Regions from separate parts of the Homo sapiens genome. Here all the other regions are linked to region 3. The links are contacts of gene promoters, found by promoter capture Hi-C in human tissues and cell types (Jung and others, 2019). All regions are on one chromosome and are shown on one strand. The core of a region is centred on a gene start or on the middle of the fragment in contact, and the rest is flanking DNA. Distances in the headings are between cores, read along the strand shown. Region 1 overlaps SMURF1 (SMAD specific E3 ubiquitin protein ligase 1). Region 2 overlaps ARPC1A (actin related protein 2/3 complex subunit 1A). Region 3 holds the start of KPNA7 (karyopherin subunit alpha 7).

Region 1 (4,514 bases), core at 771-3,270, 130 kb before region 3:
TACAAACAATAAAAAAGTTGTGGTCATCACAAAATGGAATACTATACAGCAATGAGAATGGCAGATCCTAACAACACACACATTTATGAATGAATCTCACAAACATAATATTCAATGAAAGCCACAAGACAATACATTTCATACAATGCCACTTATATAAAGTACAAAAGCAGACAGAACTAATATATGCTGTTAAAGTTAGGCTAGTGATTATCCTTTAGCAGGATAAGGTAATGACCTGAAGGACGCATGAAGAAGGTGACTGGGGAACTGGCCATGCTCTATGTCCTGACCTGGATGCTAATTATATACATGTGTTCAGTTTGTGAGAATTCAGTGAGCTGTACACTCAGATATTTATAAATCAATCATAAACATCAATAGACAGAATAGAAAGTCCAAATATAGACCCATGTCAACTGATGTTCTTCAAAGATGCCAAGACAATTCGATGATGGGGGAAAAAAGATAGCCTTGTCTAGACTGGAAAATAAGAAATCCAGCCAGAATGAATGGGATATCATTATGAAAAAAGAATAATAATAAGTCTCAACCCTTACCTCACATCATACACAAAAATTGGCCTCAAACGGAGCAGAAACATAAAAATTAAATACAATAACGTAAAAACTAGATACCATTAGGAAAATGAAAGGGCAAGAGACAGACTGGGAGAAAATATTAACAACCCATATGACCAACAAAAGACCTGCATCTAGAATAAAGAACTCTACAACTCAATTTAAAAAAAAAACCCAATCCAATTAAAAAATTGATATTTGGCTGAGCACAGCAGCTCACAACTGTAATCCCAACACTGGGAAGCCAAGGTGGGAGGATGACTTGTGTCCAGGTGTTCAAGATCAGCCTGGGCAAAACAGTGAGACCCTATCTCTATAAAAATTTTTAAAATTAACTTTTAAATAGACACCTTACCAAAAAAGACATCACATGGCCAATAAGCACAGAAAAACATGCTCAGTATCAATAATCATTGGTACAATGCACAATGCACATGAAAACCACAGTAAGGTACCACCACATACCTACTAGAATTGCTAAAATTAAAAAGACTGACAATACTAAGTGCTAGCAAGGAGGTGGAAGTAGCAGTAGTAAGTAGTGTTTTCCTGACTCCTGGAGACATTCTAGCAAATTATTATTATTTTGAGACAGGGTCTACACTCTGTCACCCAGGCTGGAGTGCAGTGGCACAATCACAGCTCACTGCAGCCTCAACCTCCCAGGTTCAAGCGATCCTCCCACCTCAGCCTCCCCAAGTAGCTGGGACTACAGGCATGCGCCACCAAGCCTGGCTCATTTTGTTTAATTTTTTGTACAGCTGGAATCTCAGTCTGTTGCTCAGGCTGGGCTTGAACTCCTGGCCTCAAGTGATCTGCCTGCTTCAGCCTCCCAAAGTGCTGGGATTACAGGATTACAGGCCTCTAGCAAATTACTGAACCTGCAAAGGGAACCCCCGATTTATTTATTAGTCAGAAATATAGGTGACAACCTTTGATTTGCAACTCATGGATAAGGTAGGAGTAGTCTTGTGGGACTGAGCCCTTAACCTGTGGGGTCTTTGCTAATTCTGGGGAATTAAGCGTTGGGATTGAATCGAACTGTAGAATAGCCAGTTAGCATCAGAATTGGGATTGATGTGGGGAAAAAAAAAAAAAACCCACACATTAGGTGTCATCAGTGTCATGTGTAACAACAGCTCAGAGTATCACACACAGGTCAATTTTTGTGTATGATGTGAGGTAAGGGTTGAGACTTATTATTATTCTTTTTTCATAAGGATATCCCATTCATTCTGGCTGGATTTCCTATTTTCCAGTCTAGACAAGGCTATCTTTTTTTCCCCATCATCGAATTGTCTTGGCACCTTTGAAGAACATCAGTTGACATGGGTCTATATTTGGACTTTCTATTCTGTCTATTGATGTTTATGATTGATTTATAAATATCTGAGTGTACAGCTCACTGAATTCTCACAAACTGAACACACGTATATAATTAGCACCCAGGTCAGGAAATAGAGCATGGCCAGTTCCCCAGTCACCTTCTTCATGTGTCCTGCAGGTCATTACCTTATCCTGGCTAATTTTTTATTTTTTATAGCGATGGGGTCTCGCAATGTTGCCCAGCCTGGTCTCAAATCCTGGGCTCAAGCGATCCTCCAGCCACAGCCTACCGAAGTGCTGGGATTACAGGCGTGGGCCCCCACACCCAGCCCCTACTCCTTAAGTGTGAGCTGTGTGTAGTGACTTCCTTCCAAAGAGTCCAGTATGGAAAGAGAGGAAAAAAAAGTAACTTTACAGTGGAGAAACCTGACGAACACCATCTCAGCCAGGTGATCAAGGTCAACATCAACAGTGACAAGTCACGCTGATATTAAGAGCATGAAATTTTGACAGGACCCGATGAGAATGGTACTTCACTTCTGTGGTCTTCCTCTCTAAAATGCATAATCCCAATCTAATCATGACACAAACATCAAACACTTCCAGTGGAGGAACATTCTACAAATACCTGACCAGTGCTTCTCAAAGCTGTCAAGATCATCAAAAGCAAGGAAAGTCTAAGAAACTGTCACAGCCAAGAGCAACCTAAGGAAATATGACAACTAAATGTGATGTCATATCCTGGATGGGATCCTGAAACAGAACATGTCAGTAGGTAAAAAATAAGACAGTGAAAGCATGGACTTGAGTTAGTAACAGTGTATTAAAATTGCTTCATTAATTGCAACAAATGTACTGCAGTCATGTTAGATGCTGTTAATTGGGGAATCTGGACGTGTGTATGCGTATGTACATGTGTGTGTGCGCATGTGTGCAAGTGTGCATGTGTGCACGTGTGCCCATGTGTATGTGTGTGCACGTGCATGTGTGTGCGTGTGCCTGCATGTGTGTGCACGTGTGTGCGCGTGTGGGGGCGGAAGGGGTAACATGGGAACTGTCTGTCCTACCTTGGCAATAATTCCATAAGTCCAAAATTGTTCTAAAAAATAATGTCTATAATAAAAAAAAAAACAAAAAAGGTTACAGAACAGTGACGAGGTAAACTCTTTTTGGTAAAATTGTGTGTATGTGGATAAATGTGTATTTAAGAGTCTGGAATGATGTCAACTAATACAGTATAATTATCTTTCTTTAATAATAAATTATGGTATAATTTATTTCTCTTCTTTTCACCTGGTTGTAATCTTTAAATTTTCTGCAAAGAATGATGATATGAAAAACATTTATGAGGAAAAGTAAAAGCTTACTTTTTATATTAAAATATTAGTGACTTTAAAAAAGGATTAAACTGACAGTAGCTAGGATTCTTAATCCACTTCTTTTTTTTTATTTTTTTTATTTTTTTTTATTTTTTTTTTGAGATGGAGTCTCGCTCTGTTGCCAGGCTGGAGTACAGTGGCGCAATCTCAGCTCAGTGCAACCTCTGCCTCCCGGGTTCAAGTTATTCTCCTGCCTCAGCCTCTCGAGTAGCTGGGACTACAGGTGCCCACCACCACACCCGGCTAACTTTTTGTATTTTTAGTAGAGATGGGGTTTCAACATGTTGGCCAGGATGTTCTTGATCTCTTGACCTCATGATCCACCTGCCTCAGCCTCCCAAAGTGCTGGGATTACAGGTGTGAGCCACTGCGCCTGGCCTCTTAATCCACTTCTAAGCACAGGCACTGGTGCTATGTCTGGTTCACTTTCTATTCTTTGTTCAGATTATTAATATGTCATTTGTGATTTCCACCATCAGGCAACTCTAAAGGGCTGAATATGAAATTTTTCCAGGTTGATGTATAATATAAATATGTTACAGAAGACAGGGACAAATCAAAAAGAAATGTCACTAATGTCAGTAACCACAGAAAAATACAAAGTTTTGAAGACTCAGGGTAAAATTTTTCAAAAATTAATTCACAAATAAAACAGCTTTTACAGAATCCTGAAAGGGCTCATTCTATTACTCGGTTATTTGCTTCGTTATCTGAAATCTTGTGGCTTTTCATGTCTTTATTTAAAAAAAAAATAGTGGCACCAGTGCCGGGCACAGTCACTCACTCCTATAATCCCAGCACTTTGGGAGGCCGAGGCAGGTGGATCACCTGAGGTCAGGAGTTCAAGACCAGCCTGGCCAAATATGGTGAAACCCCGTCTCTACTAGAAATACAAAAAAATTAGCCAGGCGTGGTAGTGGGTGCCTGTAATCCCAGCTACACGGGAGGCTGAGGCAGGAGAATCACTTGAACCTGGGAGGCAGAGGTTGCGTTGAGCTGAGATCATACCAGTGCACTCCAGCCTGGGCGAAAAAAAAAAAAAAAAAGTGGCACCGAATTGAGAGCTTAATTTCACACTTCCAACTTGAATAAAATTGACAGATAATTAGGTTTGAGACTGACAGACTGAACACATGCTGTGGACTGCCTCTTCTTTGCTATACCAATAGTAATGACAGAATAGATATTTAAGATAAACATATACACAGCTCTACTCACAAAAGGAATC
Region 2 (4,084 bases), core at 155-2,654, 140 kb after region 3:
AGGCAGGAGAATCGCTTGAACCAGGGAGGTAGAGGTTGCAATGAGCCGAGACCATGCCACTGCACTCCAGCCTGGGCAACAGAGCAAGACTCTGTCTCAAAAAATATGTATACATTATGAAACAATTCGAAATACTGTCTTTTTCTCCTTTTTTAGAGACTTTGTGGGGGATTTTGGTTTTTTATTTTATTTATTTATTTATTTTTTGAGACAGGGTTTCTCTCTGTCACCCAGTCTGGAGTACAGTGGTACAAACACGGCTCACTGCAGTCTCCAACTCCTGGGATCCAGCAGTCTTGCCACTTCAGCCTCCCAAGTAGTTGGGACTACAGGTTTGCACCACCACACCTGGCTAATTTTTTGATTACTTGTGGAGACAGGTTCTCACTTTTCTTGCCCAGGCTGATCTCAAATTCCTGTACTCAAGCAATCCTTCTGCTTTGGTCTTCCAAAGTGCTGGGAGTATAGTTGCAAGCCTCTGCACCTGGCTGTCTTTTTCAGAATGAACTTCTTCAGACAGGATACTAAGAAAGTGATTCTGTAGCCAGGCGTGGTGGCTCATGCCTGTAATCCTAGCACTTTGGGAGGCTAAGGCAGGCAGATCACCTGAGACCAGGAGTTTGAGACCAGCCTGGCCAACATGGTGAAAGCTAATCTCCTCTAAAATTACAAAAATTAGCCGGGCGTGGTGGCGTGAGCCTATAATCCCAGCTATCGGGAGGCTGAGGCACAAGAATTGCTTGAACACAGGAGGCAGAGGTTGCAGTGAGCTGACATTGCGCCACTGCACTCCAGCCTGGATGACAGAGTAAGACTCTGTCTCAAAAAAATAAAAAATAAATAAATAAAAGAAAGTGATTCTTGCTTGACCCCGGGAGGTGGAGGTTGCGGTGAGCTGAGATCACGCCATTGCACTCCAGCCTGGACAACAAGAGCGAAACTCCATCTCAAAAAAAAAAAAAAAAGAAAGAAAGTGATTCTATAGAAAGGTAATTTAGCATTGAAGGAAAGGCATTGGCTCAATATTTAGTCTCCCAACTGTTGAGCAACCAGACGTGATTGGTTTTTAAACAGCAGTTTGGGGGCAGAAATGAATTAGTTAAGCCAAAATACTGACTGGTCCTAGACATAAATCATCTTTTTTGGATGGTGCTAGCGAATTAGAGGCTAATCCCCAACATGAGGTTCTTCTAATTTCTTGGTTGTGATTTTTCAGTGAAAGAAATTAAAAAGAATTTGCAGATTCGTGGAGACTTGGGAAGGATATTAAGCTGTCTTACAACCCCAAATTCACCAAAAATTCAGCAAATCACTGAATATTCATAATAAAAATTGAAGTATTTTCAAACTTCAGTTTTTATCTCAGAGGTTAACGTCCTATGTAATCCGAAATCTCACGAAAACATAACTGAGTTAATCAATATCTATGCTTACTAATGAGGACTGCTGAAAACCAGCTGTTGTGCTGAGAACATCAGGGCCAGGAGTGGAGAAGGCCTGTTCATGGTTCTTTTCCTTTCTGTCCTTTAGCAATGCACCTTGTCAGCTGGGCGTAGTGGCTCATGCCTGTAATCCCAGCACTTTGGGAGGCTGAGGCCGGTAGATCACTTGAGCCCCAGAGTTTGAGACCAGCCTGGGCAACATGGAGAAATCTCATCTCTACAAAAAATACAAAAATTAGCCAGTCTCAGATCATAACCTGGTATCAAAAAACCTTGTCTCTGGCAGAAGGCCTGGTGACCGACAGAAGAACGTTGAATGCTCTGTTACTTTTCTATAGAATCTTTTTTTATAGAAACCTATCTGAAAAAGTTTATTCTGAAAAAAATAATATTCTGAATTGTTTTATAATTTTTTTTTAAATTAAGGAAAAGTGTGGCCTACTTAGGTATTTTCACCTGACATACATTTGTAGGTCATTTGGGGATGCTGGTTGAGTGGATAAACTGAAACAGTTTTCCCCTCTCATAGGTGGGTGAGCAAGCACATTAAAAAGCCGATTCGCTCCACAGTCCTCAGCTTGGATTGGCATCCCAACAACGTTTTGCTGGCAGCAGGATCATGTGACTTCAAATGCAGGTGGGAACCAGTGAGAACTGATAAACTTGAGCCGTGCATTCTTCATCCTTCAACAAATAATTTTAGGTTCTCTTTCTTTGTTTTTTGTTTTGTTGTGGTTGTTGTTGTTTTGAGACAGGGTCTCACTCTCACCCAGGCTGGAGTGCAGTGGCACCATCATAGCTCACTGCAGCCTCCAATTCCTGGGCTCAAGCGATCCTCCAGCCTCAGCCTCCAGAGTAGTTGGGACTACAGGTATATGCCACCACACCTGGCTAATTTTTTTAAAATTGTCTTTATTCTTTGTAGAGACGGGGTCTTGCTACATTGCCCAGGTTGGTCTTGAACTCCTGGCCTCAAGTGATCCTCCCTCCTTGGCCTCCTGAAGTGCTGGGATTACAGGCATGAGCCAGTGTGCCTGGCCTGTAAGTTTCCTTTTCTTTGCAAGGTACTGCGCTAGGCACTGTGAGGGACTCAAAAATGAGGCCTGGTGCTGTGGCTCACACCTGTAATCCCAGCACTTTGGGAGGCTGAGGTGGGCGGATCACCTGAGGTTGGAAGTTCAAGACCAACTTGGCCAACATGGTGAAACCCCGTGTCTACTAAAAATACAAAAGAGGCCGGGCGCAGTAGCTCACGCCCGTAATCCCAGCACTTTGGGAGGCTGAGGTGGGCGGATCACAAGGTCAGGAGATCGAGACCATCCTGGCTAACACAGTGAAACCCCGTCTCTACTAAAAAAATACAAAAAATTAGCCGGGCGTGGTGGCGGGTGCCTGTAGTCCCAGCTACTCGGGAGGCTGAGGCAGGAGAATGGTGTGAACTCGGGAGGCGGAGCTTGCAGTGAGCCGAGATCACACCACTGCACTCCAGCCTGGGCGACAGAGCGAGACTCTGTCTCAAAATAAATAAATAAATAAAAGTTAGCCTGGTGTGGTCACAAATGCCTGTAATCCCAGCTACTTGGGAGGCTAGGGCATGAGAATCATTTGAACCGGGGAGGTGGAGGTTGCAGTGAGCTGAAATCACACCACTGCACTCCAGCCTGGGCGACAGAGTAAGACTCCATCTCAAAAAACAAACAAAAACAAAACAAAAAAATGGAAGCAGTTTGTGATCCAGAAAAGGAGCTCAAGCATGGTGATTAAAAGAACAAGTTCATAAGTCACTGAGGTAAAAAGAAATCCACTTGGAAGTGGGGTAGGAGGGAGAGGCAAGGGTGGGGCCAGCGAAGATTTCCTTAAGTGTAAGAATATCTATGGTTTAGAGGGGAGGATTAGCATGTACTCTCTCTGTCTCTGTCTCTGTCTCTTTCTTACCATCTCTTTCTGTGTCTCCCTTTCTCCCTGTCTTTCTTGACAACAGTATTTTTCTCATTTCATATTCCAGGCAGCAGTCTCTGCAAATTCCAAAGTGAAACAATTAATAAAACATAGCTAAACAGTGCGCTGCTAAGCTGTTATTGTGCTGTTCTTTCAGTTAAAGCTTTTTATTTTGTCATTAGCTTGAAGCTAGAAGAAATGCAGCCACTTTGCTAAGAACTTTAAGGATCATACCATGGAATTCCATGTAATTGCTTTTTAAAGTTGTTCTTTCTCAAGAATATGCTTTTTTCCCTTTAGCTGAAAGGAAAGCAAAGCAAATAAATGTTGCTTTGTGTTGACTATATGGTAGGTTGGGAGATGAGGTGCACTTTTTTTTTTTTTTTTTTTTTTTTTTTTTTTTGAGACAAGGTCTTGCTCTGTCACCCAGGCTGGAGTGTGGTGGTGCGATCATAGCTCCCTGCAGCTTCGACCTCCCGGACTCAAGCAATCCTCCCACCTCAGTCTCCTGAGTAGCTGGGACCACAGGCATGAGCCACCATGCCTGGCTGATTTTGTTTATTTTTTGTAGAGATGGGGTCTCACTATGTTGCCCAGGCTGGTCTCAAACTCCTGGGCTCAAAGAATCCTTCTGCCTTGGCCTCCCAAAGTGCTGGGCTTACAGGGATGAGCCACTACACTCAGCTGGGATACACTTTCTTCAG
Region 3 (4,308 bases), core at 1,152-3,651:
AATTGTGCACACCTGTAATCCCAGCTACTTGGGAGGCTGAGGCAGGAGAATCGCTTGAACCTGGGAGGCAGAGGTTGCAGTGAGCCAAGATCACACTGCTGCACTCCAGCCTGGACTATGAAGCAAGTCTTCATCTCAAAAATAAAAAGATACAGAGATGGAGGACAGAGCTTGCAACACAAAACTATGTGACCAAAGAAGCCGAGTGAATGTTAGAATCCATATACACAGCACACACCCCCCGTCCCCAGCCCTTGGGCTCAACCTGGAAGCAAGAACAGCCTGGACTTCTCAGTTCCAAGTCCTATTTCTACAAGGCATGCCTGTTGGCCATACCTATATGCTAACGTTTTAGCTCCTTGGTAAGCCTCATTGACGTGAGCAGCTGTAAACACCTGTATACTGGCCCTTGAGGAAGCAATCCAGCTCCTCGGAGATAAATAGCAGCCTGGTTTTTTATTTTTTTCAGACGAAGTCTCACACTGTCGCCTGGATGGAGTGCAGTGGCACAATCTCGACTCACTGCAACCTCCACCTCCCAGGTTCAAGCAGTTCTCCTGCTTCAGCCTCCCAAGTAGCTGGGATTACAGGCCCCCGCCACCATGCACATCTAATTTTTTGTATTCTTAGTACAGACAGGGTTTCACCATGTTGGCCAGGCTGGTCTCGAACTCCTGACCTCAAGTGATCACTTTGGCCTCCCAAAGTGCTGGAATTACAGGTGTGAGCCATCATGCCCAGCCCAGCCTGGTTTTTTATTTGGTTTTGTTTTAGAGACAGGGTCTGGCTCTGTCACCCAGATTGGAGTGCAGTGGCACAATCACAGTTCACTGCAGCCTTGAACTCCTGGGCTCAAGCAATCCTCCTGCCTCAGCCACCAGAGTATCTGAGACTACAGGCACACACCACCACACCTGGCCGATTTTTTGTTTTTGTAGAGTTGGAGGTCTTGGTATGTTACCCAGGCTGGTCTAGAACTCCTATCTTCAAGCGATCCTCCCACCTTGGCCTCCCCCAAAGTACTGGGAACACAGGCATGAGCTACCATGCCCAGCTAAGCAGCCCTGTTTTATGGATGAAGAAACTGGGGTTCTGAAATTAAATAATTGCAAGATTCCACGGAAACTTTGATTTGATTCCACAGTTGTCTGGCTCCTAAGTCCACATGCTTTTGTCTTCTCCACCTTTAATATTTTATGATGAAAATAGCAAACATACAGAAAAGTTGGAAGGATAATTCAGGGAAACACCTAGTCATCTATCTAAAGAATCTTTTGCTATATTTGCCTTTTCAACCCATCTCTCCACCACCTCCCTGCCCCCCGCTATTTTTTTTTTGAGATGGAGTTTCTCTCTTGTCGCCCAGGCTGGAGTGCAGTGGCCTGATCTCAGCTCACTGCAACCTCTGCCTCCCAGGTTCAAGCAATTCTCCTGCCTCAGCCTCCCAAGTAGCTGGGATTACAAGTACAAGCCACCACACCCAGGTCATTTTTGTATTTTTAGTAGAGACGGGGTTACACCATGTTGGCCAGGATCGTCTTAACCTCCTGACCTTGTGATCTGCCCGTCTCAGCCTCTCAAAGTGTTGGGATTACAGGCATGAGCCACCGCGCCTGGTCTCTTCACCCCGCTTTTTATGCAGATTGCACTGGTCCCCAATAGAAGCAGGTGGGTGCTTCATACTCACAGACACATCTTTGCCTCGGTACTTAAATTTTCTCCGCCTCTCTTCTGGAGCATCTAAGGTCGGCATATTGACTGGAAGTAGTAAGTTACCTGCAGGTTGGACAGCAACAAAGAAATTTTCAGTGCCCATTGTGTGGGTTATTATGTCAGTATCATAAGGCTCTAACCCTTAAAGGGCTCACAGTGGAGCAAAGGGCAGACCCAGGAAGCTAGCTTTTTTTTTTTTTTTTTTTTTTTTTTTTTTTTTTTTTTTTGAGACAGAGTCTCGCTCTGTTGCCCAGACTTGAGTGCAGTGGGGGGATATCAGTTCACTGCAACCTCCGCCTCCCGGGTTCAAGTGGTTCTCCTGCCTCAGCCTCCCAGGTAGCTGGGACTATAGGCGCCTGCCACCACGCCCGGCTAATTTTTGTCTTTTTAGTAGAGACGGGGTTTCACCACGTTGGCCAGGCTGGTCTTGAACTCCTGACCTTGTGATCCGCCCACCTCGGCCTCCCAAAGTGCTGGGATTACAGGCATGAGCCACCGCTCCCAGCCAGCATTTTTTATTTTTTGGGACCAGAGAAGCTGAGTGAGAGTTAGAACCCATATACACAGCACAGACTCCCCGTCCCCAACCCTTGGGCTCAACCTGGCAGCAAGAACAACAGTCTGGACTTCTCAGCTCCATGTCCTATTTCTGCAAGACCTGCTTGTTGGCATCAGAGTCTCACTCTGTCACCCGGGCTGGAGTGCATTGGCACAATCACGGCTCACTGCAACCTTGACCTCCTGGACTCAAGTGATTCACCCACCTCAGCCTCTTGAGTAGCTGGGACTACAGGCATGAGCCACCACACATGACTCACTTTTTATTTATTTTATTTATTTATTTTTTGAGACAGAGTCTCACTCTGTCACCCAGGCTGGAGTGCGGTGGCGCAATCTTGGCTCACTGCAAGCTCCGCCTCCCGGGTTCACGCCATTCTCCTACCTCAGCCTCCCGAGTAGCTGGGACTACAGGCACCTGCCACCACGCTCAGCAAATTTTTTTGTATTTTTAGTAGAGACGGGGTTTCACCGTGTTAGCCAGGATGGTCTCTATCTCCTGACCTCGTGATCCACCCACCTCGGCCTCCCAAAGTGCTGGGATTACAGGCGTGAGCCACCGTGCCCGGCCACACCTGGCTTATTTTTGGTTTTGTTTGTTTTTGTAGAGTCGGCTTTTCACCACGTTGGCCAGGCTGGTCTTGAACTCCTGACCTTGTGATCCACCCACCTCAGCCTCCCAAAGTGCTGGGATTACAGGCATGAACCTGAAGTCAGCTTCTATAAGCATCACCACACCAGCTCAGTAGGCTGTGAACACTGTGGGAGCACCAAGACCACCAATGCTGGGCATAGCAGTAAAGGAAAGCTTTTAAAAGTGCTTTGGCTTCAACTGGGTCCTCAAATGAGGCAGATGGGCTGGTTGTCATATATAGAAGCCTTTCATGCCAGGTGCAGTGGCTCACACCTATAATCCCAGCACTTTGGAAGGCTGAGGCAGATGGATCACTTGAGGCCAGGAGTTCGAGATCAGCCTGGGCAACATGGGGAAACCCCATCTCTACTAGAAATACAAAAATTAGTCAGGCATGGTGGCGGACACCTATAATTCCAGCTATTTGGGAGGCTGAAGCAGGAGGATCACTTGAATCCGGGAGGCGGAGGTTGCAGTGAGCTGAGATTGCGCCACTGTACTCGAGCCTGGGCAACAGAGTAAGATTCCGTCTCAAAAAGAAAAAGAAAAGAAGGCTTTCACACGGTGTGTCTGAGGAGTTATAAATCAGGCATATGTACAGGGTGGTGAGGAGACCCGCCAAGGCTGCAACAGGAAAACCCCACACCCAATGCACCAGCACATGGGGTCAGGACAGTCTCAAGCACAAGTCACTGAGAATCCTTCAGTAGACTGCCTCCACCCCAGTCCAGACCACTATCACCTCTTACCCACACTACTGCAGTTGCCTTCCAGCTGGTCTCCCTGCTTCTCCCATTGCCTTATTCCAATCTGTTCTTTGCACAGAGTACATGTGATTGTGGATCACCTGAGGTCAGGAGTTCGAGACCAGCCAGACCAACATGGCGAAACCCTGTCTCTACTAAAAGTACAAAATTAGCCAGGCGTAGTGGCAGGCACCTGTAGTCCCAGCTACTCAGGAGGCTGAGACAGGAGAATCGCTTGAACCCAGGGGGCGGAGGTTGCCGTGAGCCAAGATCGCACCACTACACTCCAGCCTGGGCAACAGAGCGAGACTCCAACTCAAAAAAAAAAAAAAAAAAAAAAAAAAAAGAAAAAAATCTGATTAGTCAGGCACAGTGGCTCATGCCTGTAATCTCAACAACTTGAGAGGTTAAGGTGGAGACTTGCTTAAGGCCAGGTGTTCAAGACCAGCTTGGGCAACAAAGCAAGACCCCCGTCTCTACAAAAAATATAAAAATAAGCTGGGCATGGTGGCACATACCTGTAGTCCCAGCTACTTGAGGCTGAGGTGGGAGGATTTCTGGAGCCCAGGAAGTCAAGGCTGCAGTGAGCCACGATTGCACCACTGCACTCCAGCCTGGACAGCAGAGCCAGACCCTGTCTCCAAAACAAACAAACAA

Evidence for each region. The method cuts DNA at HindIII sites, captures the fragments that hold promoters and counts their contacts. A contact is called where the count stands out against the background at its distance.
Region 1: a fragment that was not itself captured here is called in contact with the fragment with the promoter of KPNA7 in region 3 in 1 of the 25 tissues and cell types used here (H1 embryonic stem cells).
Region 2: a contact is called between a fragment that was not itself captured here and the fragment with the promoter of KPNA7 in region 3, in 1 of the 25 tissues and cell types used here (aorta).

What each region holds. Positions count from the first base shown.
Region 1 is chr7:99,073,967-99,078,480 of GRCh38, forward strand. The region is part of intron 1 of SMURF1 (SMAD specific E3 ubiquitin protein ligase 1); the gene reads right to left. Among named protein-coding and RNA genes, the nearest start is that of SMURF1, 68 kb to the right of the region's middle. The HindIII fragment of the contact is 3,837 bases long and covers 103-3,939 here.
Region 2 is chr7:99,346,881-99,350,964 of GRCh38, forward strand. It overlaps ARPC1A (actin related protein 2/3 complex subunit 1A), which reads left to right. Exons shown (of 10, transcript NM_006409.4): 5 at 1,972-2,079. Among named protein-coding and RNA genes, the nearest start is that of ARPC1A, 23 kb to the left of the region's middle. The HindIII fragment of the contact is 4,878 bases long and covers 1-3,843 here.
Region 3 is chr7:99,205,714-99,210,021 of GRCh38, forward strand. It overlaps KPNA7 (karyopherin subunit alpha 7), which reads right to left and starts at 2,402. Exons shown (of 11, transcript NM_001145715.3): 1 at 2,315-2,402; 2 at 1,688-1,776. The coding sequence starts at 1,753. The HindIII fragment of the contact is 15,790 bases long and covers 1-4,308 here.